Regions from separate parts of the Homo sapiens genome. Here region 2 is linked to region 1. The links are contacts of gene promoters, found by promoter capture Hi-C in human tissues and cell types (Jung and others, 2019). All regions are on one chromosome and are shown on one strand. Each heading gives the region's core, a stretch centred on a gene start or on the middle of the fragment in contact. The rest is flanking DNA. Distances are from core to core; before and after follow the strand shown.

Region 1 (2,700 bases), core at 99-2,598:
GGTGAAATGCTGGTGCCTCTCGGGAGAGTGGTGGGGTAAGGCCTTTCTCTGTGCTGACCTGACCTCCTTTTCCAATCTCAGGGATTCATAGACACCACTCTAAAACAAAGCGGTAGAAAAATTTTACTCGTCTGCCAGAGAGGGTAATATCCAAATTTGGACTGATTTGCCTTTTTTTTTTTTTTTTTTTTAATTACCAAAGATAATCGCACACATAGCCCTCTTATTTTGGAAACAGCAGAGGACAACAAAGTCCAGTACTATCCTAAGGCCAAGAAAAGCATATGCAAAAGGTAGGTGTAGGCTGGGACTCACAGCAGGCTGGGACCCCAGGAAAACTGGGCTTTAAGGATTGCTCACTGGAGGCCTGGGTGCTATACAGCAATGCTTGCGGGCACCCACTCAGCACTCACTGGGTAAGAAATTAGGGAGAAGAAATAGGGGAATATAAACGTGGAGCTCAGACTGCCACATTTCAAGAGAAGCAGAGAGACTAGAAGATTTACATGCACTCCTCTCTCCTCTGTCCCAAGCCAGCTAGAGCAATATATGACACCTTAATTCCCGAAAAAGAGAGTTCCCTTCTCCTTTTCTCCTTCCACATGGCTTCCTCCTCCAGACTGGGGAAGTGGGGCACAGGTGAGAACCGTCCCAAGGGGCTCACCCTTAGCTCTCTTGTCACTGGCTATAATATCACACAAAAATATTATCATCTAACCCACATCCTCTTGTTTCGATAGCTAGCATTATTAGCAGTAGTATTATTTAGTATTATTTTAAAACTTGCTGATGTTTCTCCTATCAAAGTGAACTCAGAAGAGCAAATCCTGCCTTACAATAGGCATAAAGGCCACTATGCCCATGAAACCTGAGACATCGCAGGCTTTTGCACTCTTGGGGAGAACAGCAGTCGTTCAAACTACAGGCATTTCCTCCATTACTACACGTGCCTTTTCCTCCTTCCCCAGAGTTCAAGGGACCCTTTCAAACAGGAGGTTACTTTGACTTGAAAAGGCTAAGTTTGGAAATCATCACTCAAGCATGAAAAGACTCTCTCGTTTCATTCCTGGAGTTTGAGAAATGGGAAAACTTACCCGCACGGGGACAGAAATACAATTCCCTTTCAAAAGCGATCGATTGAAAAGCTAAGTTTAGCTGCTAAGTGGAGCCAAGCACTTCCAGCTGGCAGAGACCCCCCCAAGTCTTCCATCTGCCACCCACCCTGGCCCTCCCTGCCTGCCACCCTTTGCATGCGGTCCCCTTCTCCCCTCCCAGTACGCACGGTGAGGCCGAGGAGGAGGAAGCAGCAAGCCTGTCCCGCCGCCGGGTCGCGCGCAATGCAGGGACTGTGGCCGCGCGGGCCGGACGCAGGCACCGCCCCTCTCCAGTTAATCTCCTGTTAATTAGCCCTCCCACGTTTAAAGCCCGACCCCAACCTCGCCAAACCCCTCCTCTAAATCACCTGATTTACCCGCCCACAGTAACCATCGCCTGCTGATTCCCTTTGAGCCCTTCTATTTGGCGCCCTTAGAAACTCTGGTTCCTGAAATGCCAACTCCCCTAATCAGTGGGAAGGGGGACAGTAGCCATTGTCTAGGAACTCTGAATTCTCGAACATTTCAGGATCAGCAGAGTTTTGGAAGTTGTTTTTAAAAACTTCGCAGAAAGTTAAAATCTCCAGGGTAGAACTAATTAGCAGGCATTGACAATATTACCTTCCCTTAGACTTCACCTCCCCTGCGCTGGTGGCAAGGCCTCCTTAAAAGGCTGACAATGACAGAATGTAACCCTCAGTAAAGATCACTTACGGTGTTCCAAATTCATGATACCAGACAATTTGCTTTGTCACGATGTCCCCTCCTGTTCAGGGTCCAGAATGAAATTGGAGGCAATTGTACTGGATCAGCTCATTACACAATCAGCTTAGTGTGTTTTTTACAGGGAGGTTTAGAGGAACGTTTACGGAAGCCGTAGATATTTAGCCTACCATCACTATCTAGATTAGGGATACTTCCAAGCTTCCTAGTCCCCATAGTCCCCACAATATTTATGGATCTATCTTTCATGGGTTTATATGAGAAATGTTTAAGGATTTCTGTTTTCAATCTATATTATTTCTCTCCTAGTGCTATATCTCAGACACTCACCACCTGTTGCAAGGTCTACTTCCTTTTTTTGCTCTTAATTTACTCCTTTAGGCTTTAAAGGATATCCCTAGGACTAACTTTCTAGGATGTGATGGACAAGTTCATGTTCTATTAAAGAAAGAAATAACTACCAGTTTGCTCTAGGAACAGAAATTAATCCAAGGAAGGTCTGAGAATGATTTCTATATAAGCATAACAGTAGGAGTTTTGGAAAATCTAGCATCAGAAGGCATCTGTTCTTCACTTTTATGTCTGTATCTTTTCAAAACTCTACTTATTCACCTATCTTTGTAAAGTATACTAGAATCTGTCTGTAACATTAACTGGAATAGGATAGAATTTGAGATGACATAAATCTATTCTGAATTCTCTCCAAAGGAGTTTGGTATTATAAGAATTTAAGACTCTCTTCATTTATTATAAGGTGATACAGGCCAAATCTTATGGATAACATGGCAGAAAAAGGAAGAGGAGAGCTACTGTTTAGATAATTTGGTCTACAGAATGCTAGTTGAATGGTTCTAACATTTTTTTTTTTTTTTTTTTGAGACGG
Region 2 (2,700 bases), core at 55-2,554, 270 kb before region 1:
TTATGAATGTCTTTACCAAAATTTACCTGAGTTACATGGTGCAGTTTTTCAGAATCTAATGCAACTTCTAAAGTCACTTAGGCAGTGAAGTGGAGGTGTTAACTAACAGGCATGCCTCCAGAAAGGTGATGTCAAGCAAATTGGGGAAATACTTTGTACTTTTGCAGATTTATGATGAATTTTCATATATTAAAGGTGATGAGAAGGTAATTACACTAATTTTGTTCTTCAGATTTACATGGTTACAGAAATGTTTTCTTGCCAAATAGGTTATAATTGTTCAAGAAACAAGCTGCTTACAGATATCTTAAAATTATGAAAGCCAAAAGGGTCTCTGTTTTACTCTTTCCAGAGCTGTCTTTACTAGTGGTCGTTTTGGGGTAAATATTCTTAAGTACCTACTGGAAAAGCTTCCACCTTCTATGACATGCCTCTGATTCCTCTCTGTCATTCCTCTTCTCTCCTGTCATCTTTCTTCTCTCTCTCTCTCTCTAATATTGCCTCTCTGGCTAGCCTCAGCAGTGTTGCTCTCCTTCTCCAAGTTTAGCATTGGTTGACCTCAGGGATTTCAAAGCTAGCTGATCATCAGAATGACTAGATCTTTTGAAGAATAAAAAAAAACAAATATGAGTTCTGGGGCAATTCCTTCCCTGGGATTCTGAGTCAGCAAGGGTAGTGTGGGAATAGTAAAACGGCTTTGCAGATTTCCCCAGATAAGTCTAAATGTAAACCAGGATGGTGAACAACTGGTCTGCCTCCAAACTTTACTGGCCATAAGAAGAAATGTGTTTTGGACTTCAAGCTTCTCCATAAAGAAAGAAAAGAAGAGATATGATAACTAAATGCAGTGCCTGATGCTGAATTGTATCCTGGATGGAGACAGAATGGGGTGGGTTATAAAGGATCTTAATGGGATAATTGATGAATTTTGTGTATGGACTGTGAATTAGATAATAGTATTTTATGGATGTTAAGTTTTTCTGATTTCTATAATTGGGTTTTAACTACTTCAGAGAACATAGAGATTTCATTTTTTGCTCTTGTTTTCCCAGAAACACATGATAAACTATTCAAGGGTAGAGGGGCACAATGTCTCCAATGTATTCTCAAATATTTAAAGGAAAATTTGCATGTATGTATACATATGAAGAGGGAGACAGAGATTTATAAAGTAAATGAGGCAGCATACAAATAATTGTTGAATTTGGGTAAATGGTATATAGGAGTTTCTTGTACTGTTTCAGCAATTTTTCTGTAAGTTTGAAATTATATCAAAATTTATTGTTTAAAAAAAAGCTTTACTGTAGCTAACTAAGGGTCCTCATATTTCTTTCCAAAAAATGTAATGCTAAACTATCTGATTCAGAGTAATCAAACAAATAGATGTCAAAAAAGCAGTTTGGAACCTACTGTCATATCAACTGAATATTAGAAAAGTAATTTTTTACATATTAATACCATTATGCACAATAATTGTACACTTGAGAGTTGAACAATAAGGTTAAACTGATTGAAGTATTAAGTGACATGAAGATTGTTTCCTTTTTTCAACTCAAATGATGGTATACAACCAAAAAAAAATACAAATTACCATTTTCTAAAAATCTATGAAGCAGTCCTATGTTAGGCAAGATATGGAGCACATATCTGATTTGAAGTCAGAAAATGTAAGTTCAAATTTATTTCTTACTTAGTGTGGTGTCTTGAGAAAGTTGGCCAAGCATCCTAAATTTCCTAATCTGTAAAACAAATCTAGTCGTGATAAAGGCCTCATTAATGAGAGAAATAAATGATTTTAAAAAGTTGACAATATATTGCCATATAGATAGCAAACAGAAACTATCAAGCATAATTCTCAGCCATGTAAATACAGTTGTCCCAGAGTATCCATGTAGAATTGGTTCCAAGACCTCCCGCAAATATCAAAACAGCAAATGCTGTAGTCACTGATATAAAATGGTGTTGTATTTGTGTATAACCTATGCACATTTTCCTGCATACTTTAAATAATCTCTAGATTACTTGTAATACCAAATACAATGGCAATAGTTGTTTAGGGAATAACAACAAGAGTATGTCTGTATATGTTAAGTACAAATGCAGTTTTTTCCGAATATTTTTTATCTGTAGTTGGCTGAATCCATGGATATGGGACCTACAGTTACAGAGGGCCAACTGTATGATATTTTGGACATCTCGCAAGTGCTAGTTAGTTTCCTAGGTCGTTGGACCTAACAAGAGGCTCCATCTGAACTGTGAGGTTTGCAATGAGACATGAGAAATATATTTCCTGGTGATGGGGAAGCGGTCGGAGTTGAAGAGAATCAAATGAAATCACAGGATTACAGAAATACTCTACTGCTTGATGAAATATCTAACATTGCACCTAAAATTTTGATCCAAATAGATAAAGGCAAAACTCCCAATCCTTTTGTGCCATGACCCTCCCATGTTTGGGTTTTAAAATCTGATTCTTTTAGATTAATTTAGAGCAATCTTTCAAGTCATTTGTTTTGTAAATGTACATAAATATTCATTTTGCTGATCTTTTATACATACAAACCATCCTTAAATGGTTTTTACATAAGAAAATACATTGTGTAGATATGAAATTCTTGGTTCACAATATCATCCTTTTAAAATTCTTATTTTTCTTTTTTTGAAATATTTACAGTTAGTGTCTGAAGCTAGCTGGATACA

Evidence for each region. Contacts are between HindIII fragments. The study calls those that stand out against the background at their distance.
Region 2: a contact is called between a fragment that was not itself captured here and the fragment with the promoter of MGST1 in region 1, in 1 of the 25 tissues and cell types used here (heart left ventricle).

The regions. Positions count from the first base shown.
Region 1 is chr12:16,346,293-16,348,992 of GRCh38, reverse strand. MGST1 (microsomal glutathione S-transferase 1) reads right to left here and starts at 1,348. Exons shown (of 4, transcript NM_020300.5): 1 at 1,283-1,348. RefSeq lists enhancers at 1-398, 1,329-2,258. The HindIII fragment of the contact is 4,760 bases long and covers 1-2,696 here.
Region 2 is chr12:16,616,400-16,619,099 of GRCh38, reverse strand. No RefSeq gene overlaps it. Among named protein-coding and RNA genes, the nearest start is that of LMO3, 12 kb to the right of the region's middle. The HindIII fragment of the contact is 3,053 bases long and covers 1-2,700 here.